Regions from separate parts of the Homo sapiens genome. Here regions 1, 2 and 3 are each linked to region 4. The links are contacts of gene promoters, found by promoter capture Hi-C in human tissues and cell types (Jung and others, 2019). All regions are on one chromosome and are shown on one strand. Each heading gives the region's core, a stretch centred on a gene start or on the middle of the fragment in contact. The rest is flanking DNA. Distances are from core to core; before and after follow the strand shown.

What was found. Contacts are between HindIII fragments. The study calls those that stand out against the background at their distance.
Region 1: a fragment that was not itself captured here is called in contact with the fragment with the promoter of MICAL3 in region 4 in 1 of the 25 tissues and cell types used here (dorsolateral prefrontal cortex).
Region 2: a fragment that was not itself captured here is called in contact with the fragment with the promoter of MICAL3 in region 4 in 1 of the 25 tissues and cell types used here (mesenchymal stem cells).
Region 3: a fragment that was not itself captured here is called in contact with the fragment with the promoter of MICAL3 in region 4 in 3 of the 25 tissues and cell types used here (aorta, dorsolateral prefrontal cortex and mesendoderm cells).

What each region holds. Positions count from the first base shown.
Region 1 is chr22:17,676,890-17,682,447 of GRCh38, reverse strand. The region is part of intron 2 of BCL2L13 (BCL2 like 13); the gene reads right to left. Among named protein-coding and RNA genes, the nearest start is that of BCL2L13, 41 kb to the right of the region's middle. The HindIII fragment of the contact is 3,031 bases long and covers 2,739-5,558 here.
Region 2 is chr22:17,639,044-17,645,105 of GRCh38, reverse strand. All of the region lies in intron 1 of BCL2L13 (BCL2 like 13), which reads right to left. It also overlaps the pseudogene LOC124905160. Among named protein-coding and RNA genes, the nearest start is that of BCL2L13, 3.3 kb to the right of the region's middle. RefSeq lists an enhancer at 5,467-6,062. The HindIII fragment of the contact is 6,703 bases long and covers 1,151-6,062 here.
Region 3 is chr22:17,721,445-17,726,961 of GRCh38, reverse strand. It overlaps BCL2L13 (BCL2 like 13), which reads right to left. Exons shown (of 7, transcript NM_015367.4): 7 at 1-285. Among named protein-coding and RNA genes, the nearest start is that of MIR3198-1, 40 kb to the left of the region's middle. The HindIII fragment of the contact is 3,159 bases long and covers 1,039-4,197 here.
Region 4 is chr22:18,023,188-18,029,366 of GRCh38, reverse strand. It overlaps MICAL3 (microtubule associated monooxygenase, calponin and LIM domain containing 3), which reads left to right and starts at 4,806. Exons shown (of 32, transcript NM_015241.3): 1 at 4,806-5,086. RefSeq lists an enhancer at 1-2 and a silencer at 4,669-5,078. The HindIII fragment of the contact is 7,498 bases long and covers 1,103-6,179 here.

The DNA.
Region 1 (5,558 bases), core at 3,005-5,504, 350 kb after region 4:
CTAATTGTATCTCACTTTTGGACACATTTTTAGATGATATACTTCTAGCATTTTATACATGCTTTGTAATTTTCTTTCTTTTCTTCCCCCAACCCTGCCCACAACAGTTAGTTGACTGCTGCTTAAGTCCACAAAGCACACAACTGAGGCTAAAATTCCACCACTGTGGGCATAACGATTTCTTTGTACCAATCACATTAGATTTATGAGTTATGCTCATCACCAGTCTCTCATGCTTATTACTGGTTAATTCTATTTTGCTACTAAGTTTTCTAAATACAGCAAGATAATTATATATCTTTGCAAGTACTAAGGTACAAAAAAAGATACTGCTGAAGCCTGAAAGCAGTACCTCTGTCATTTGACAGTCCAATTTCACCCAAGTTAGTTTTAGTGATAACAATACACAATAATGGCTAATATCAAGTGCTGGGGGCACTATACTAAGCACTTTGTATGTACATGTACGTACGTATGTATGTATGTGTATATACACATATGCTCATAAAATGCTCATAACAACCCTTTGAGATAGGTATTACTATTATCCTCAGTTTGCAGGTGAAAAACCAAGACACAGGGAAGAAATGTGACCAAGGGTGCACCAACAGCAGAGCTCAGATACAAACCCAGGCAGTCAACTTTCAGGGTCTGGGCCCTAACCCCTGCACAATGTCGCCTCTCGCCATTCTTGCAAGCATGGACTATATTAAATCAAACACCCCAAAGTCCAAGCCTGCCTCTATGACAGTGATCACAGCACAGCAGTTCTTGTTCTTGGGCTTTTTGAGATTTCAGGCTCTTAAGAGAATGTCAATAAAATAATGGCCCCTCCTCCCACAATGTTTGGCAAGCAATTTTAGGGCATTCATGGACCCTCTCAGGACCTCTATAAGCCTTGGTTTAAACTCTTTACTAATTACCATCTAATTTTCCTTTTTTTTTTTTTCAGACGGAGTCTCGCTCTGTCCCCCAGGCTGGAGTACAGTGGCGCAAGCTCTGCTCACTGTAAGCTCCGCCTCCCAGGTTCACGCCATTCTCCTGCTCCCAAGTAGCTGGGACTACAGGCGCCCGCCACCACACCCGCCTAATTTTTTGTATTTTTAGTAGAGACAGGGTTTCAGCGTGTTAGCCAGGATGGTCTCGATCTCCTGGCCCCGTGATCCACCTGCCTCGGCCTCCCAAAGTGCTGGGATTACAGGTGTGAGCCACTGCGCCCAGCCCATCTAATTCTCCTTCTTTCCCCGTCCCTGAATTCACATACTCACACCCACTGCATAATATAGTCCTCTTTCATTTGGCTAATGTACTACAGTTTTGTACTATTGGGTAACCTGACTTAATGAGCAGGGCCAATGATCACCAACCACTAAAAGGCTCCAGGAGACAGATCAAGACGAGTAATCGCGGGGCATGGAGGTGCGACAGAGTAGGAAATGGGACTTGGCCCCACCCCACTAATGTGTTTTTCCATACGTTCTCAGTGACCGCCACACCCTACAGCGCCATCCCAACTGGCACCATACCTGCTGACCAGACCTCGCAGGTATGGTATGAAGAAACTATAGGCAGCAGCCTGCCATAAATCTTACTCAAGGGAGTGAGCTCTACCACTCACACGAGCTCAAGGACAATGACCAATCCTAATCACCAGCCTCATTATAATACTAAAATCACCACCCAGAAAGACGCTTATCTGCCACTTTCTGATCATGTGTTAGCACGATTCCTTACCGTGTCTGCACTCCACCCCACACACGTAGTGATGCTCACTTACCTCGTGAATCATGCATGCCACCCTCCTTAAGACACCGCAATGCACTCCCCTCGGAGAGCCAGCTGGAGAACCCTTCCTCCTGTGCTGTCTCCCTTATGTCCAACCTTTCTAGGTATGAGTCTTTTTTTCTTTTTTTTTTTTTTTTTTTTTTTTTTTTTTGAGACAGAGTCTCGCTCTCTCCCAGGCTGGAGTGCAGTGCAGTGGCTTGATCTCGGCTCACTGCAAGCTCCACCTCCCAGGTTCATGCCATTCTCCTGCCTCAACCTCCCGAGTAGCTGGGACTAAGGCGCCCGACACCATTCCCCGCTAATTTTTTGTATTTTTAGTAGAGATGGGGTTTCACCGTGTTAGCCAGGATGGTCTTGATCTCCTGACCTCGTGATGCGCCCACCTCGGCCTCCCAAAGTGTTGGGATTACAGGCGTGAGCCACCGTGCCCAGCTTTTTTTTTTTTTTGAGAGAGAGTTACGCCCTTGCTGCCCAGGCTGGAGTGCAATAGCACAATCTCGGCTGACTGCAACCTCCGCCCCCCGGGGTTCAAGCAATTCTCCTGCCTCACCCTCCCGAGTAGCTGGAATTACAAGTGCCTGCCAACACGCCCGGCTAATTTTTTGTATTTTTAGTAGAGATGGTGCTTCATCATGTTGGCCAGGCTGATCTCGAACTCCTGACCTCAGGTAATCCGCCCGCCCCAGCCTCCCAAAGTGCTGGGATTACAGGCGTGAGCCACCGTGCCTGGCCCATAAGTCTTAATATAGCCTTGTCTGGGAAACTTGCTTGGCCTTGTGTCAATTTCTATTACACAGGAGCCTAAGAACCTGTGGTTGGTAATAAGGGGAAAAAACGAACAAAGAAAACATTTGTATCCAGAGACTAGAACATAAAGGAGACCAAAACGTTTCTCCTGAATTCAAAGTGGGCAAATTTGGGGGTAAAACAGCACAGTTCCTTTTAAAGCTTTAAAAGCTTATATAAAAAGCTCAAGCTCTCCCTACATTGCAAAAATATTCTTTCTTGAATAATTTTTTTTTCTTCTACTTTCAGGTGATTTCAGTACTACAGAACATTTAAACAAAAAATTTAGGATAAAAAGAGCCAAACCAGCCAGGCACAGTGGCTCACGCCTGTAATCCCAGCACTTCAGGAGGCCAAGGCGGGCGGATCACCTGAGGTCAGGAGTTCAAGACCAGCCTGGCCAACATGGTGAAATCCCGTCTCTACTAAAAATACAAAAATTTGCTAGGCATGGTGGCAGGCGCCTGTAATCACAGCTACTCGGTAGGCTGAGGTGGGAGAATCACTTGAACCCAGGAGTTGGAGGCTGTGGTGAGCAGAGATCGCACCATTGCACTCCAGCCTGGGCCACAAGGGTGAAACTGTCTCAAAAAAAAAAAAAAAAAAAAAAAAGAGCCAAACCAATTGACATATGCAGCAGAATCCACATTCCCAGGACATGGGCCAGATTCACAATCACATCAATAATCCCAGCTTGGTTTTTAGCCAGAAGCATTCAGGGAAGTCAAGATAATTCAGAGTCATCCTAGGAATCTCACTCATTTCTGGAACTTAAATTCAGACTTACCTGAACACCCAGAGGATGCTGAATTGTATACTTAGCAACTAACCTTCTGTTAGAGGAGAGTGGTTTTTCATTTCCCTAAAGACTTGAGATAAGTAACTTGTGGGGACAATGAAGCCCCTACCTGGGTGTGGGGGAAGGGCCCTGCAATCAACTATACTCCACCATGCAAGAATTTCAGCAGAAAAACCAAACAAGCTAACAAAAAGCAGCATGAACTGGGCCACTAAGTTGCAGGTCTACCTACTATTCATTTATCCACTGAAGAAACATTGACTACCTGCTATTTATCAGGTATGTCCTGAAGCATCTACGCAGCACAAAAATGAGTAAGATTTGTCCAGCACATGAAACTATTTATATAGACTGGGGAAGTTCAGGAAGGGCAGGACAACAGCAAGCATTTACAAAGTACCTGTTACTTAACAGGCACGGTAGTAAACATTTCCTATGTGTTATTTCATTTAATTTCCAAGTCAACCTTATGAGGGATGAAATAATAGTTCCATTTGAAGATGAGGAAACTGAAGCTTGGATAGGTTCTACCACTACCATAAAGAAGTTATAATTGGAACTCTGGTGAGTCTGACTACAAAATCGTTAATCCAGGCTGTGCTCTCGTCATCTTCTGGTTGGGTGGCTAGGAATGAAAGATCTCAGAAACATTTCTGACATGATTAAATAGTTAACAGAGAGCAGAAAGGCTGTCTATATCGGTGATACTGTCTTCTGACAGGGACTTTCATGTCCCCTTATTTAATCTTCACTTCAGTTGGGTGTGGTGCTCATGCCTGTAATCTCAGCACTTTGGGAGGCCGAGGCAGAAGGATTGTTTAAGTTTAGGAGTTCAAGAACAGCCTGCGCAACATAGCTAGACCTTGTTTCTACGAAAAATAAAAAAAACTAGCTGAGCACAGTGGCATGTTCCCATCGTCCAAGATACTCGGGAGCCTGATGTGTGAAGATCACTTGAGCCTGGGAGGTCGAGGCTGCTGTGAGCCATGACTGCACCACTGCACTTCAGCACTTCTATATATTTTATGTTTCTAGACAGGGTCTCACCCTGTTGCCCAGGCTGGAGTGCAGTGGCACTATCATGGCTCACAAGAGCCTCAACCTCTTAGGCTCAAGCGATCTTCCCACCTCAGCCTCTCAAGTAGCTGGCACTACAGGTACACACCACCATGCCCAGCTAATTTTTGTGGGGTTTTTTTGTTTTTTTTTTGAGACAGAGTCTCGCTCTGTCGCCAGATCATGCAATGGCGCGATCTCGCCTCACTGCAACCTCTGCCTCCTGGGTTCAAGTGATTCTCCTGCCTCAGCCTCCTGAGTAGCTAGAACTACAGGTGCACACCACCACACCCAGCTAATTTTTGTATTTTTGGTAGAGACAGGGTTTCACCATGTTGGCCAGGATGGTCTCGATCTCCTGACCTCATGATCCACCTGCCTCAGACTCCCAAAGTGCTGGGATTACAGGTGTGAGCCACCGCGCCCAGCTGTGTGGGGTTTTTCTTTTTTTTGGTAGAGACAAAGTTTTGCCTTGTTGGCCAGGCTGGTCTCAAATTCCTGGGCTCAAGCAGGCCGCCCACCTTGGCCTCCCTCACGCTGGGATTACAGGCATGAGCCACCAGGCTCTGCCTATGTTTTCATTTTTTGCAACCAAATTAAAGAATCCCAAATTCTCAGATGGGCTTTGAATTAATTAATTCTATTAAGGTCAAGAAACTTGATTATTCTATCATCCACAGGTATTTAAAATACCTTTAAAAAACAAAAGGTTAAACATTTTTACGTATCACAGATTCTGATTCATTTTCTACTTTTAAAGCTGACAAAAATAACATGGCTTTAAGCGACATAAAACACTTTCCTTATGAGATGAGACTAACCAAAATAAAATTCAAATCCTTTTATTTTTTTATTTTTTTATTTTTTGAGAATAGGGTCTCACTATATTGCCTAGGCAGGTCTCAAACTCCTGGGCTCAAGCCATCCTCCTGCCTCTGCCTCCCTAAGTGCCAGAATCCTTAAAAGTTGAAATGTAACACAAAGGATCTCCTCAATGTCACCAATAGCATATACTTTGCTTAATGACATTTCACTTACTTCTGCCTAAGTAAATAACTTTGATAAACTACATTCATAAAAACTTGAAAATGTTACATAAAACAATCTATTATGCAAAAATTTGAGGCCAATT
Region 2 (6,062 bases), core at 3,253-5,752, 380 kb after region 4:
TGGGTGTGGTGACTCATGCCTGTAATCCCAGCACTTTGGGAAGCCGAGGTGGGTGGATCACGAGGTTAGGAGATCGAGACCATCCTGGCCAACATGGTGAAACCTCGTCTCTACTAAAAATACAAAAAATTAGCCAGGCATGGTGGCGTGTGCCTATAATCCCAGCTACTCAGGAGGCTGAGGTGGGAGAATCCCTTGAACCAGGGAGTCAGAGGTTGCAGTGAGCTGAGATTGTGCCACTGCACTCCAGCCTGATGACAGAGCAAGACTCCGTCTCAAAAAGAAAAAAAAAAAAAAAAGAAATTCCTAGCACTCACATTAGATATACTAATTTAGAGTATCACACTTATACTGTATTCTCTAACCTCACAGAACGAAAACCAAAACACCCTATAGTTTAACACATTTTAATAAATTATTTCAAAAACCTGTTTCTAAATTTCCTTCCACTAAAATATTATAAGATTATTAAATGCAGTCGGGCGTGGTGGCTCATACCTATAATCCCAGCACTTTGGAAGGCCAAGGCAGGCGGATCACGAGGTCAAGAGATTGAGACCATCCTGGCCAACGTGGTGAAACCCTGTCTCTACTAAAAATACAAAAATTAGCTGGGCGTGGTGGCACGCACTTGTAGTCCCAGTTACTTCAGGGGGCTGAGAGAGGAGAATGGCGTGAACCCAGGAGGCAAAGATTGCAGTGAGCCGAGATAGTGCCACTGCACTTCAGCCTTGTGACAGAGCAAGAATCTGTCTCAAAAAAAAAAAAAAAGAATTATTAAATGCTCCAGTAATACAGAGTTGAACACAACTATAATCCCAGTTTATAAAGAGAAAAATAAAAATTCACAGATAAATCCATCACAAATCAAAAAGCTGTAATTTTAAACATTAAAAGACCAGGCAAAGTTGCTCATGCCTGTAATCCTAGCACTTTGGGAGACCAGATGGGCAGATCACCTAAGGTCGGGAGTTCGAGACCAGCCTGGCCAACATGGTGAAATCCCATCTCTACCAAAAATACAAAAATTAGCTGGGTGTGGCGGTGTGCATCTGTATTCCCAGCTACTCAGGAGGCTGAGCCAGGAGAATCAGGCTTGAGCCCAGGAAGCGGAGTTTGCAGTGAGCCGAGATTGCACCACTGCACTCCAGCCTGGACAACAGAGTGAGATTCTGTCTCAAAATAAAAAAGTTGGCCGGGCGCCGTGGCTCACGCCTGTAATCCCAGCACTTTGGGAAGCCAAGGAGGGCGGATCACAAGATCAGGAGATCGAGACCATCCTGGCTAACACGGTGAAACCCCATCTCTACTAAAAATACAAAAAATTAGCCGGGCATGGTGGCGAGTGCCTGTAGTCCCAGCTACACACCTCCTGGCATGAACCCAGGAGGCGGGGCGTGCAGTGAGCCGAGATCGCACCACTGCACTCCAGTCTGGGCGACAGAGTGAGACTCCATCTCAAAAAATAAATAAATAAAATAAAAATAAAAAAGCAAACAACAACAACAAAACATTAAGTTTCTTGGCTATCAGCTCTTTAGTCTCATGACTCACTGGTGGCTTGAACAGGGAATTTTTTTTAAGTTCCACAAGTTAACATGGAGTCCAAAGCTATTTTCTAATCCATGCTTTGCCAGCTCCTATTGAATTGTAAGACTTTCTCTGAAAGAGAGTAAAATAATTCTAATAAAAATTATGAAATGGCCGGGCGCGGTGGCTCACACCTGTAATCCCAGCACTTTGGGAGGCTAAGGCGGGCGGATCACCTGAGGTCGGGAGTGAAGACCTCACAAGAGTGAAACTGCATCTCAAAAAAAAAAATTATCAAATGGTAAAAAATTCACCCCACCCATCTGAAAAATGCAACTGGACAAGTATCATTTTTAAAACTCAGCAGACACTAAAACTCTAGTGTAGACACTACCCCCTTTCCAATTAAAACAGGCCTAATTGTTCAATCTTGTGTTAGAGCTACCCAAAAATATTTTCACTCAGCAGTTGGCATTTGCAGATAATTCAGAGAACTGCCTTACTTTCATCCCGTCCTAGATAATCTGACTTTCACAATAATTAGGCTTCCTGTATATGGCTTGTGTAAATGGAGGACATAAAATTCAGTTACTCTGTTCCACTTCCAGATATATACCAGAGAAAAATGAAAACGCATCTGCACAAAAATTTGCACATGAATGCTCAAAGCAGCATTACAGACCAGGTGTGGTGGTTCATGCCTATAATCCCAGCACTTTGGGAGGCAGAGGCAAGAGGATCACTTGAGTCAAAGAATTTGAGACCAGCCTCAGCAACATGGAAAAACCCCATCTCTACAAAAAATACAAAAAAAATTAGCTGGGTATGGTGGTGTGTGCCCATAATCCCAGCTACTTGGAAGGCTGAGGCAGGAGAATCGCTTAAACCCAGGAGGCAGAGGTTGAGGTGAGCTGAGATGGCACTATTGCACTCCAGCCTGGGCAACAAGAGTGAAATGCCATCTCAAAAAAAAAAAAATGCCCATCAACTTATTTTTAAAATGTGGTATGTCCACACAATGGAATAGAATGCAGCAATAAAAAGGAATAAAGTACTGATACACACTACATCTTGGATAAACTCTGAAAACATTATGCTAAGTGAAAGAAGCCAGACAGGCCGGGCGTGGTGGCTCACGCCAGTAATCCCAGCACTTTGGGAGGCCAAGGTAGGTGGATCACCTGAGATCAGGAGCTGGAGACCAGCCTAGCCAACATGGCAAAACCCCGTCTCTACTAAAAATACAAAAATTAGCTGGGTGTGGTGGCACGCACCTGTAATCCCAGCTACTCTGAGTTACAGTTACTGAGACTGAGTTACAGTCTCAGTCTACTTTGGGACTGAGTTAGGTTCAACCTGGGAGTCCGAGGTTGCAGTGGGATCATGCCACTGCACTCCAGCCTGGCGACAGTGAGACTCCGTCTCAAAAAAAAAAAAAAAAAAAAAGAGAGAAGCCAGACACAAAAGACCACATATTGGTCAGGCGCGGTGGCACACACCTGTAATCCCAGCACTTTGGGAGGCCGACATGGGCAGATAATAAGGTCAGGAGATGGAGACCATCCTGGCTAACACAGTGAAACCCCGTCTTTACTAAAAATACAAAAAATCAGCCGGGCGTGGTGGCGGGCGCCTGTAGTCCCAGCTACTCAGGAGGCTGAGGCAAGAGAATGGCGTCAACCCGGGAGGCGGAGCTTGCAGTGAGTCGAGATGGCACCACTGCACTCCAGCCTGGGCGACAGAGTGAGACTCATTCTCAAAAAAAAAAAAAAAAAAACACATATTATGTGATCCCATTTTTGTGAAATCTCCAGAATAGGCAAATCCATAGACAGAAAGTAGATCAGTGGTTGCCCAAGGGTGGGGGTAGGAGGACCAGTAATAAAGAATGACTGCTAATGGGTATGGGAGTCTCTTTTTGAGGTGATGAAAATGATTGTGGTGGTGGGTGCACAACTCTGTGAATATACTAAAAAGTACTGAATTGTACAATGGTGAGTTGTATGGTACGTTAATTATATGTCAATAAAGTTGTTAAAAAAAATCAGCTACTCCAATCCTTTTGCGGTTCATAAAGAACCAAGATGACTGGGTTTCATGCTAATGCATGACATGTGCCTCCCTCAAATCATGTTGCCTCATGGGCTTATTGGCACATTACCGTCTGAGGAAGAACAAGAAAAAAAAATAAACCAATCTGAAAATACCACCCACCCCCACTTTGTATATATATTAAACAAGAACTCTTGGTGAACATTTATTTGGAATAAGATACAAATCAAAATCCTGTCTAAAAAATGATAAATGCAGACTGGAACTAAGTGAATGTTTAACACTTGTGTTTTGTATGCCTGAAGTATTTCACAATAAAATACATATCTATTTAGGCCGGGCGCAGTGGCTCATGCCTGTAATCCCAGCACTTTGGGAGGCCGAGGCGGGCAGATCGCGAGGTCAGGAGATCGAGACCATCCTGGCTAACACGGTGAAACCCCGTCTCTACTAAAAATACAAAAAATTAGCCTGTCGCGGTGGCGGGCACCTGTAGTCCCAGCTACTCGGGAGGCTGAGGCAGGAGAATGGTGTGAACTCAGGAGGCAGAGCTTGCAGTGAGCCGAGATCGTGTCATTGCACTCCAGCCTGGGCGACAGAGCGACACTCCGCCTCAAAAAAAAAATATATATATATATATAAAAAATTAATAAACAAACATATATATATTTTTTGAGTCAGGGTCTCTGTCATCCAGACTGAAGTACAGTGGAGCAATCACAGCTCACAGCAGCCTTGATCTCCCGGGCTCAAGCAGTCCTCCCTCTCGCCTCAGTCTTCCAAGTAGCTGGGACCTATGCCTGGCTAATTTTTTTTTTTTTTAATTTTTTGTGAAGACAAGGTCTCCTTATGTTGCCCAGGCTGGTCTCGAACTCCCGGGCTCAAGCAATGCTCCTGCCTGAGCCTCCCAAAGTGCTGGGATTACAGTGAGCCATCGCAAACAGCCAAATGAAATGTTGTTAATGATTATTACTGTTGCAAACCACTTGTCCTAAAAGCTTAATGTGTGTGATATTTAATACATGTTGATTAGATTATGTGCTAGTAAACACAAGTCTGTTTTTTTACAAGACTGGTTAGATATAGCCTTAGGCATCTTTCAATTGAATTCAACTACTGGTCCTTGCTGTAGGAGACAACTAAAAATAAAATAAAAAGTGAATCCAACTACTGAATATACTCTTCCACATAAAAAATGAGCCATTGGAAAAAAAATACAGAACAGTACCTGACCATTCCTAGTAAAAAGATTTTCAATACCCTTAACTGCCTATTACCAAATGAAGAATACTTCACTTGGGGGAGAGAGGGTGTTAAAAATGAAAATAATACTTCATGCGGTGGCGCGGGGGTGGTTGAAAAAAAGGTATCACCGTGCGCGGTGGCTCACGCCTGTAATCCCAACACTTTGGGAGGCTGAGGCGGGGGGATGACCAGAGATTGGGAGTTCGAGACCATCCTGACCAACATGATGAAACCCCGTCTCTACTAAAAATACAAAATTAGCCCCGCGTGGTGGCGCATGCCTGTAATCCCAGCTACTCGGGAGGCTGAGGCAGGAGAATGGCTTGAACCCAGGAGGCGGAGGTTGCGGTAAGCTGAGATCGCGCCATTGCACTCCAGCCTAGGCAACAAGAGGGAAACTCTGTCTCAAAAAAAAAAAAAAAGAAAGAAGGTATCTGAAGGGTGTGGCAACTCATCCAAGGTCACACTAGTCAGGGCAGAGAGCAACATTCTGCTTTATACTAAACCTCCAGAGGAAATCTTATAATTTCGCCAAAGAAGTTTTTGTTTTGTTTTACGCAACAACAACAAAAAAATAAAAGTAAGGAGGGAGGGCTCTCAGCTTAGTTCAAACTTCTAAACAGAGACAGTGAGATAGCTATTTTGAATAAACAAACACTTGTGCAGGGAGTGGCTAAGAGCTAACCAAAGCCAGCAGTCAACAGCATGTGAACAACTGGCCAGATCCGTCCGATTTTCAACGCTAGGTTAGAGCCTCCACTCAGAAAGTCGGTTATGAAGGCAAGAAATAGGATCTTTACAGAATGTTGGGAGGATAAATCAAAGGGGGAAAATGACTCCGTGTGAACTGTACTGCCTCCAAGGGCAAGAAGGCAGTTTTTTTCTGAAAAAATAGGTGTCAGAACAGCAGTGAATTAAGGTTAAGAAACAAGACTTCTAACAATCTCTGAGAAGAAACGACTAAGACTGGCAAAGCTAATCTTCCAGTGTTCTAAGTGAATCGCAGGAAAACCTTTCCCTCAACCAAAAAGAAGTCGCCGTTCCCCAGTTTAGCCCTAAAAATGGACCCGGGTTTTCCACGTGAAGCTGTCTGTGGGGAAGGACAGCGGCGTGGAGCCAGGGCCGAGCTCCTCCGCCTCCGGCACCCCACGCCGGAAGAAGCCTGCTCAGCGGCGGGGCCGCGCGGCCAGGTCCGGTCACGGTGAAGCGGACCCCTAAGCTCCGAGCACCTTCGG
Region 3 (5,517 bases), core at 1,369-3,868, 300 kb after region 4:
TCCAGCTCCGTTGCTGTCTAAGCTTTTCACTTCTTCAGGATCCATTGCAATCTGCTGCCAGGACTCAGGGCCTAGTGACACTGGCAGGCTTTCTGTGTGCCAACTCTGGCTAGCTGACAGTGACACAGGTAAGCTCTCAGACTGCCAGGAAGTGGTCACAGTTGGAGACTCTGGGGGACTGACTTGTCCAGAGTTGTCGCTGGGCAGGATGTAAATGTCATTGCTATCTTCTGCAGTGATTCCAGGGTATTCCTCCTCCTCTGACTCAAGACTAAACACAGTGCCCTAGAAACGAAGGACAAGCGTCAATAATAAAGAATGGTAACTATTTAAAACATAAACATCAATCTGGAAAGCAAATTCTTTCCTAAACTGAAGTTCTAGGAATGAAACACTGTTTAAACCTACATAGTTTCCGAATGGAATGCATGTATTTGTAGGCCAATGCAGAGAAAGAATTTTTGACAGTCTTCTGAGCAGTCTCCTTGAAACTAAAAAATCCTAAGTTAATATACATTCAGTGTAATTCACACACAGGCTGAGAGCATCCTAATCTGAAAACCTGAAATCTGAAATGATCCAAAATCTGAGGTTTTTTTTTTTTTTTTTTTAAGATGGAGTCTTGCTCTGTCTCCCAGGCTAGAGTGCAGTGGCACAATCTCAGCTCACTGCAACCTCCGCGTCCCAGGTTCAAGCGATTCTCCTGCTTCGGCCTTCCCAGTAGCTGCAATTATAGGCACCTGCCACCACGCCCAGTTAACTTTTGTATTGTTAGTAGAGATGGGGTTTCACCATGTTGGCCAGGCTGGTCTGGAACTCCTGACCTTCAGTGATCCACCCGCCTTGGCCTCCCAAAAGTGCTGGGATTACAGGCGTGAGCCACTGTGCCCGGCCCAAAATCCGAAACTTTTTGAGTGCTGAAATGACATCACAAGTGGAAAATTCCACACTTGACCTCATGTGGTGGGTTGCAGGCAAAACACAGTCAAAAATCTGCTTCATGCACACAAAATATTATATATATTTATGTTATAAATATTGTATATTTGTAAATTAATATATTAATATTATATAAAATTACCTTCACGCTATATGTATAAGGTGCATACAAAAAGAAGTAAATGTCATGTTTGGGCTTTCCCATCCCCAAGACATCTCATCACATACACACAAACATTCCAAAATCAAAAAAAAAAAAATTAAAATCCAAAACACTTCTGATCCCAAGCACTTTGGATAAGGGATACTCACCCTGTATGTTCAATGCAGTAATTAATGCAAAACAGCAGAGAAAACAAAGGCAAGACCTTGTGCTCAAGGAATTTATCACTTAGTAGGGTATACAAATAATGCTATGTCATAGTCCAAGTGCCATTAAGAGTTCATATGGCAGTGTTGCTTTCCTTAGAAGAAGAAGAAAAAAAGTTCAGATGGGAAAAAGACCTCTTTGGGTAGAGGTCAGAGAAAGCAGGGAGATCACAGAAAGCCTCACGGAGGGACTAGCATTTCTATCAGACATCTGAAGAATGGGTAAGATTTTGGCAGGCGAAGGGTACACAGAAGACACAATGCAGGCAAAAGCACAGAGACAGAAAAAAAAGAAGATAAGGACAGAGCCCTGTTTAATTAATGCAGAGTGCCCATGAAGAATAGAAGGTCAGTGAGGACAGGACCATGGAGGAACCTGAATGACAGCTAAGAAATATGGACTTTATCCAACAGGCGATGGTTTGTCACTGACATCTCTGAGGTACAAAATTATAATCAGAGCTTTGCTTTAAAATTCCTCTGATGGCAGAGACAGAATGGAGAAATGCTGCAGACACGGAGACTCTTGCTTCTTTTGTCAGGAAGTCTGAGTGAAAGCAATAAAGCCCTACAGCACAGGCCTTGTGTCCATGTCTATTAATAACAGGCCACCGTGTGCCTACTGCTTATCAGGGTTGTGTCAGGCACAAGGGCTACGAGAAAGAATGGGTCTATTCTTACAGAATTTACTAGGCAGCTGTGAAGCCTGACATATGAATAACTAACTTCAATATGATACAGAAAGCTTTATGACAGGTGTATGCACAAGGGGCTAGGCCAACCCAGAGGGTAAGGCGCAATAAAAGGACAGGAAGAGAACCAATGGAATGGAATGTCACAGAGATGTACAGAAATTGTCATACAAAGGCTAGACAACACTCGTAAAAGCTACAGGGAATCTGAATGGAATATGTAAAGCAAATTAATTTCTACTTCATTTTATGATTATGGTTGCTATTCAACTGAAGTAGGATAATTTCATTCTTCAACCAAAACCAAAAACTTTCTACATACATCAAGGATCTAACATAAATCAAAAGTCTATCAGCCCCATAAAAAAGGAAATAAGAAATACAAATAAATCACACGACCATGATGTCGGCATCATACTGCACCACTTTCTACCTCGACCCTTGCTCCAGCCACTTCAGAGGCCCTGGTAAGCATCAAGGATGTTCTATGAGTATGGAATAATCAGGGGGTTAAAATAATACAGTATGACCACAAAATTCACAGTCAAAAACAACTGGCTTGTATCCCAGCTCCAACTGTGTACCAGCTGTGCGAATCTGGATACCTTGCTTAAACTTTTAGACTTCAATTTCTTCACAAATAAAATGGGGATGACTGACTAGATAAGATTGTTTTTGTTGTATTTTTAGAGTTGGGGTCTCGCTCTGTCACACAGGCTGAAGTGCAGTGGCAGGATCACAGCTCACTGCAGCCTCAACCTTCTGGTCCCAAGGGATCCTCTAGCCTCAGCCTCCTGAGTAGCTGGGAATAACAGCATGGGCCACTGCACTCAGCTAAGTTTTTTTATTTTTTGTAGAGACGGGTCTCTCTATGTTGCCCAGGCTGGTCTCAAACTCCTGGCTTCAAGCAATTCTCCCACCTCAGTGTCCCAAAGTGCTGAGATTATAGGTGTGAGCCACCACACCTGGACTTGAGTTCATTTTTAAAATGAGGTATAGTTTGTTTTTTGTTTTTTTTTGTTTTTTTTTTGAGACGGAGTCTCACTCTGTCATCAGGCTGGAGTGCAGTGGTGCAATCTTGGCTCACTGCAACCTCCGTCTCCCAGGTTCAAGTGATTCTCCTGCCTCAGCCTCCCGAGTAGCTGGAACTACAGGTGCACGCCACCATGCCCAGCTAATACTTGTATTTTTAGTAGAGACGGGGTTTCACCATGTTGGCCAGGATGGTCTCAATCTCTTGACCTCGTGATCCACCTACCTCGGCCTCCCAAAGTGCTGGGATTACAGGCGTGAGACACCGCGCCCGGCCCGAGGTATAGTATTTATAGTGCTTAGATTAGTACTTTGTACATAGGAAGTAATCAGTAAGTTATGCTATTTCATAACTTGCTATTGTTTGTGTTGTCATTTTAATTGTTGTTTTTGGTGGTATGGTGGTAGGACAAAGAGCTATTCTAAAATACCAACTGGATGGGACAATAAGGAAGTGAAAACAAATGGAAACAATACCCTCCCTTGGCTAAAGAAGGTAATTTACAAACTTTTCCTTCCTCCTCCATCTCTTCTAAGCAGAGATAACACAAAACTGTAAAGTAAAATCTGTCTTTAAAAATTACAGTACTGCAGTATACAATTAGGAAAATTGGAGGGCCCATTGGCTTGGAAGAGAGGGCTTCTAGGCCTCCCAGCTTTTGAGGATGACAGCTTGCCCCAGCCTCAGGGTAAGGACCACTGGAATGGTCCAGAAGAGGATGCATTCAGGAGAGGGAGAAAGAGAGAGGGAGAGAGGGAGAGGGACAGATAGAGAGAGACACAGGGAGGGTTTGGTTCAGCTAAGTAAGCAAAGACATGGAGATCCTAACCGGAAGCTGTAATCAGGTCTCAAGCTTACACATTTTGCAAGGATTTTCATTAGCATCATTTTTAATACAGAAGGATTTCAAACAGTCTTCAATACCCTCAGGAAAGTTTAAAAATATATATGGTTCATCCAAACTATTTAACTACTATTAAAAAAGAAGTACATTTTTAAGTCCAATGTGGAAGGAAGCCCATATTGTACAATAACTCTACATAAAAAACTACAAAGTATTATTGAAAGAAATTAAAGATATCCTAAAGGGATATATATATCATGCTCATAGATTGGAAAACTATTGTAAAGATGTCAGCTATTCCCAGATTAACCCTTTGGTTCAATACAATCTCCAATATAAAATCCTACCAGGTTTTTTCTTATGGAAATTGACAACTAATTAATTCTAAAATCTATATAGCAATTTAAAAAGGCCAAGGAATTTAAGCTGATCTTGAAAAACAACAGTTTGAGAGCTGACACTACCAGGTATCTACTCAACCCATTACAAAGGCACACTGATTGTATAAGCATGGTAAGAGCTTAAAAATAGGCAATTAGACCTGGCTGGGCACAGTGGTTCATACCTGTAATCCCAGCACTTTGGGAAGCTGAGGCAGGAGGATCATTTGAGGCCAGGAGTTCAAGACAAGCTTGAGCAACATAGTAAGACATCATCTCTACATACACACACACACACACACACACACACACACACACACACACACCCCTGTAGTCTCATCTACTCAACTCAGGAGGCTGAAATGGGATGATCCCTTGAGCCCAGGAGTTTGAGTCTGCACTGAGCTATGATCGTGCCACTGTAGTCCAGCCTGGATGACAGAGCAAGATCTTGTCTCAATTCCAAAAAAAACAGAGGCAATTAGACCAATTAAATAAAATAGAATCCAGAACTAGATATATAAGGTCACATGATTTGTGGCAAAGATAACTCTGTGGGAAAATGGATGGTATGATCCTATTTACTAAATGCACATATATACATATCTACTTATTTGCATATATTTATACATAATAAAATGTTTATATAAGCAAAACACATGTTTAGAAAAACGTACACCAAACCATTATGAGTTATTTCTAAGGGGCAAGGTAACAAGAAAAGTGTGCATCATAAAAATTTCTTGGCCGGGCGCGGTGGCTCATGCCTGTAATCCCAGCACTTTGGGAGGCCGAGCAGGGCAGATCACGAGGTCAGGAGATCGAGACCATCCTGGCTAACACGGTGAAACCCCGTCTCTACTAAAAACATAAAAAATTAGCCGGGTGTGGTGGCTCACGCCTGTAATCCCAGCACTTTGGGAGGCTAAGGTGGGTGGATCACCTGAGGTCAGGAGTTTGAAACCAGCCTGGCCAACATGGCAAAACCCTGCCTCTACTAAAAAATACAAAAATTAGCCAGGCGTGGTGGCACATGCCTGTAATCCCAGCTCCTTGGGAGGCTGAGGCAGGAGAATTGCTTGAACCCAGGGAGCAGAGGTTGCAGTAAGCTGAGATCGCACCACTGCACTCCAGCCTGGGTGGCATTAAGACTTACGTCTCAAAAAAAAAAAAAAAAAATTTCTTATAAGTGTCATGACTTAAAAAAAAAAACTATTTCCATTTATTTAAAAGAATGTATTTTTTTAACCACGCTGAAGC
Region 4 (6,179 bases), core at 3,557-6,056:
GTGGTATAAATATGACCTGGCCAGCACCAAGATTCCTGGGCCAGTTACTCCGTGAAACATCAGGTTACTCTCTGTCTACTAATATAGCTCTGAGGTTTCATTAGCTGTTTCACCAGCTGCTTCCCACGTGGGGCTCTTACTGAACCTGTTGGTTGACTTAACTCCCTATCTTCTGTTTCACATGCACAAGTCAGGCCTCTACTGTGCAATATATATTTTCAACCAAAAGTGCAGGCCATTATATTTATTCATGCTAAATCTGAACTTAGTGGTTTTAGTCTATCAAAAACTCTAGGAAGACCTTTCTTTCTCTTTTAGAGACAGGCTCCCACTCCATTGCCCAGGCTGGAGTGCAGTGATGCAATCATAGCTCAATGTAGCCTCAAACTCCTAGGCTTAAGGGGTCCACTCTTGTGCACCACCACACCTGGCTAATTTCTATTTTTTTTTCCTAGAGACAGGGTCTTGAGCTGGGAGTCCTAGTGCACACCTGTAATCCTAGCTACTCGGGAGGCTGAGGTGAGAGGATCCCTTGAGCCAGGAGTTCAAGGCTGCAGAGCTATGATTGCACCACTGCACTCCACTCCAGCCTGGATGACAGAATGAGACCCTGACTCTTTAAAAAAGTAAAATAAAATAACAGGTTCTCGCTATGTCACCCAGGCTGATCAAACTGCTAATCTTAAGGGATCCTTCTGCCTCAGCCTCCGGAGTAGCTGGGATTACAAGCTCATTCTTAATGTTTATCCTGTCAACTATAGATTATAACTAAATTTTCATCTATTTTTGATTAGCTAGCTATGGTAGCTTTCTGTCATTTACAAATGTAGGCAGCCTGCCTTCAGACTTCAAGATTACTAATGAGATGCAGAGTGACCTTGAACTAGACAGTTAACCTCTGTAGAGCTCTGTTTCCTCATCTGAGGAAAGCAAGGGAGCAGAGAATGACCTCGTAGGTCTCTAGGAATTTCAGTGTACCTTATGCAAATAAAATGGCCAGCTGGTAAAAGACAGGGAAGGGGAAAAAAGCATAGACTGACCCCTTTCACTCATGGTATAAAGTGGTCAAGTAAATGTTCTATGTTCAAATATATGTATTTTAACTTTAAACCTCAGGCATTGTCTTCAGGTAATTAAACTCTGTGAACAACATGGTAGATACCTTCATTCATAATTAAACATTCAATTTTTGCATAGTGCTAGTCTGTGGGGGAGAAAAGCTGCAAAATTTACAGGTATTTTGTCAATTTAATTGCAGTAAATTTGTTCCTAAATTCAGTACGTTATCTAAAACTGCTTGATGAAATATTAGTCTTTTTTTTTTTTCTGAGACAGAGTCTCACTGTGTCGCCTAGGCTGGGATGCAGTGGTGTGATCTCAGCTCACTGCAGCCTCCTCCTCCCAGGTTCAAGCAATTCTCCTGTCTCAGCCTCCCGGGTAGCTGGAACTACAGGCACACGCCACCGCACCTGGCTAATTTTTGTATTTTTAGTAGAGATGGGGTTTCACCATGTTGGCCAGGATGGTCTTGATCTCTTGACCTCGTGATCCACCCGCCTCGGCCTCCCAAAGTGCTAGGATTACAGGCATGAGCCACCGCACCCAGCCAAAGTCACTAATACAAAGTATTAGTCTTATACTCACTTTAATGCAATAGGTGCTAAACACTGTTTTCAGTATTCAGAAATTCACTCAATAAGAGAATTTATAAAAGATCTATTGCCACGTTGAATCCACTCCTATTAATTTTCCAACAGCCTTTAGCCCTAAATTTATTCAAGAGTAAAAAACCTTTTGGCCTGATCTGATTTTAGAAGGTACATTTTAAAATAGTCAAAAGGACTAGATTCCCTCCCATCACACTTAACTTTCTCAGTGGGGAAAAAAACAAACGCTGAAAAGGTTTAAAGAGATTCTAGAGTTGACATTGAGCCCCCAGCCCTCACCTTCTGCCCTCTTTGCTATCTTCTCTCAAGGAAGAAGAAAGCAGCATTAGGTTTCATTTCATCTTGGAGAACCATCAGCGAGATCACACAGCCTTATTGCCAACCTTTGACAGTTCTATTACTCTAGTTGCTTTTCCTGAGAGGTCTCCCCTACCCCACCCATCAAAGCCTAACCCTCTCTGACAAGTTTTTCAATTTACCCAATCATCCCATCAGCAGTAAATGCTGAGATTAAAACGTGAGGATCAGAGGGACAGGGCAGCTTTTCTATAGCAGGACTGAGGCTGAGGCCATCAGCAGGGTCAGTATCAAGTGAGCTCCAAGCTCCGGCATCCCTGGCTTAACCCAGGGCCTTGGAAAGCTCACCCCTTTCTCTTATTTTCTCTCCCTATTCTTACTTATTGAGGATTTTAAAATAGTAAAGGAGATACTGCGTTTTTCTGAGTAAATCAAAATAATCAACCAAAAAGCTACAAAGAACTAACCCTAGTTTCCCAAAGAGTTTGTGAGCTAAATAATTTAAATGCTATATACCAGGTGAGGGCACAACAGATGTGTGGAGGGCAGTGGAGTGGGACCGTGCAGGTCCTGTGGGGAACGGGGCTGGGTGAGTTGGATATCCCCATTGGAGAGGATTGGAAAGTCTTTAAAATGTTAATACCCTTGGACTCAATATTCCACTTCTGGGACTCACCTGGAAGGAAATTATTCACACATAGGAGCAAGATTTATGAAGAAAAAATTTTATTGCCATTATTTACAATCAATAAAAGTTGGAAATATTCAATAAAAGGGAAATTATGAGATATTCATATGATAAAAATATTGTATGACATTTAAATTAATGTTTTTTAAAAATCCTCAAAGGAGGAAGAATTTCCCACAAAGTTATTTTTAACAAAAAGCAGGATGCACTTGTGTGTCTGTGTGTGTGTGTGTGTGGTTTTATCTCAACTTAGTTTAAAGCTAGAAAGCTAGAAAAAAGACTGGAAAGAAATATGAATATTACTAATGGCTTTCTCTAGGTGATGAGATTATGAATGCTTTTCTTCCTTTATGTTTCTATATTTTTCAGTTTTTCTAAAATAAACGTTTTCGCCTAGTGCAGTGGCTCATGCCTGTTATCCCAGCACTTTGGGAGGCTGATGAGGGCAGATCGCTTGAGCTCAGGAGTTTGAGACCAGCCTGGGCCATGTGGCAAAACCCCATCTCCACAAAAATTAGCTGGGTATGGTGGTGCATGCCTGTAGTCCCAGCTATGCAGGAGGCTGAGGCAGGAGAATCGCTTGAACTTGGGAGGCAGAGGTTGCAGTGAGCTGAAATTGCACCACTGCCCTCCAGCCTGGGCAATAGAGCAAGATCCTGACTCAAAAAAAAAAAAAAAACTCCAGCGTCAAAAATAAAATAAAATGAGAAGTAGGAGAAATTATTAGAGATTCTGGACCTTTTAGGGCATTTTTCCCTAATATCCACTCAGGCCGTGCCCAGATGGCCTTGCACCTTCAGCTGTGGCATCAAACAAAACTGGGAATTGCAGCTTTACCACTTATCTCGCTGCATAAGCTTCCACAAGCAAGTTACTTACTGTTTGTGCTTTTAGGTTCTTAATATGTAAAACAATGTTTTACATTAAAAATTAAATGAAATAGCTCCTGAAAAGCCCAGTCACATTGTCAGAGCTCAGTAAAAATGTGTTCCCTTATTCTAGTACTGGGGCAGAACACCTGCAGGTTTGTAGGTGGGGAGACAGTGGACAGAGTGGCTGGGTGATGAAGTGGGGCTCTAGAGGATGAGCAGAGATTGCCTCTGAGCCGACACCCTGGCCCTGTCAGTTCCCGTCCTCACATGATGGACATGAAGGGAACACGAATGAAGCAGATGATGATACGGTTAAGTAAATACCACCTGGGACCAGAGAGAGCCCTTCTCAAGGAGTCGCCAGCCCAGAGTCGGCCCTCTTCTGAGCTGGCCGGCTGGAGTCAATCTGCTTTGGACAACACAGCTTCAGATGGAGATAATACTGAGGCCAATGATCCTTGAAGACAAAATAATCTCTGGGCTTCTTTCTGCTCTGATTATAATGTTGCAATTATACTGAGCAGATGCTGATAGGAATTTGGTCAAATCCATCCCGTCTTCCATCTAACTTATTTTAGTGCCTGGTGGATTTCTGTCCAGCTCCACGGGCTGTGGCAATGCCGGGGCTGGCTGGAAGTGTGGAAGGGGCTGGCTGGAAGTGTGGAAGAGGCTGCCCGGGCTCCGGCATCAAGAGGTTTTCTCCGGTGGGGAGGAGTGCGCGATCTGATCCTTGGAGCGCTTGCAACTGTAGCCCTCCCCCAGGGCTCTGCGCTGATCTCCAGGGTCATCATCATAGTAACAGTAAGAACTTCATTTTATAGCATTTTTCAATCTGTAAGACAACGTCGTGTCCTTTATACCGTTGAAATTTCAATTTCACGACTACTCAGATGTTACGCGACTTGCTCAGTATCCAACACTTGGTTCCTTCACTGGCTCCCGGAGACCTGGGTGCTGAAGCCACTGCAAGGAGGTGTGTGCTCGAACACACAGCGAACACCGACTGCGTGGTTAGCAGGATTCGCTGGGGAAGAGGCCTCAGGAGAGTGCTGGAATTTCCAACCTTCGAGGTGCTAGTAACGTGTGTCGAGGAAGGGGTTGGAGAAGGGGAGAAAATGAAAAGAAGGGGAGAAAATGAAAAGATGGGGAGGAGGAGAAATGGTTTGGGTTTGGTTTTGGCTTGAGCCTCACCCAAGCGTCCCACGCCGCAGCTCCGCGGCCTCCTGGGGGCGCCCGCTCGCGTTGCCACGGCGCTCGCGCGGAGCCGCAGCCCGCCCAGCCAGCAGCGCGCGCTCCTGCAGCCCCGGCGGAGTCCCGGCGGGGAGCGCCCGCGTAGGCAGGCACCCGGGGCAGCCCTCCGTCCTCGCCGCGCGGCCTGAGAACCCCTGGGCCCTGGGCGAGGGGGCTGGGCTGTGCAGCCCCCGAGGCTAACTGGGCGGGATCGCAGCTGCAGGGGTTGTGCGAGCAGCCACGGCGGCACCTGTGCCCTGCGGGCACCCACCCTGCCCCTGCCGAGGCAGGCGCCCACCGCCGGCGGTGATGCGGCTGTGAAGCCCTAGTCGGTGAGTACCCTCCAGTCCCCCTGTGGGCGAGCGAATCTAAATGACAAGGTTATGTGTTTTGCTGGATGTCTTCTAAGAATCATTTATTTAGATTGCTTATGGTGGGGAAGCGTTTCCTTTGTGACATCTTTGTGTTTCTCGGATCTATTTCGTTTCCCTCTAAACGCAGCCCTCTCTCCCCTAGTGGGAAAGACACCCAGTATCCGTGTCTCGATCATCGCACGACACCCACCAGTGCGGATGCCACGTACCACACACTCCCCAGAGCCTGCCAGAGAGCAGGGCTGTCTCCCAGCCACGTCCACCCCATTTTCATTGTGCTTCTATCCCGCAGGCAAAGGAAGAGCGTACCCAGGCACCCCCGAGGTAGGCCAGGTGTCAGGACAGCCAGCAGGCCCTTGGCGAAGCCGGGTCCGCTCTGGCTAGCTCAGCGCGGTGAACCCATGAGCTCATTAGGAGCAGCGGCTGCTTTGCGCGGGGAACGCCGGTTTCCCTGCGGCAGAGGGGCCCTGCACCCGCCCGCGGCGCGCGGTGGTGGCCCAGGACCAGTGGCGCACACGCTTGCGCTCCCAGGCTGCAGGGCGCGCTGCGCCGGCGCAGCTCCCGGGCGTGTGCAACAAAAGGACGGCCAAGTTCATTCCCTCCTGGAAGCAGAGGGCGGGGCCGCATGACTTCTGGAGGCTGCATGTGTCTTAGAATCAAATGGTTATGACTCCATAGCAAAATGCTTTCTGTGTGTCAAGTCCTCTCCGTGCCTGCCAACCCCTTCCCTCCTCTCTCCTCCCTAAAATGCTTTCTTATTGGTCTGGCACTGTGATCAACTATTTAGAATTTTCATTGTAAAGAAATGAAAAAAGGGTGAAACCGAGACAAGCTGTAGGCTGAAAGGCTGGGCCCTGTGGTGCTATTCATTAGCTCTCAGGCCTGGCTGCTGGGGAGATTTTTAGAAATCCTGCTACCTGGGTCCAATCCCTGGAGATTCTGACTTAATTGGTCTGGGATATGGCCCAAACACTGGGATTTTTTAAATTTTCTTTTTGTGGGGAGGAGTGGTGGTGGGAAAATTTGGAGTGCATACTGGATTTTTTTTTTT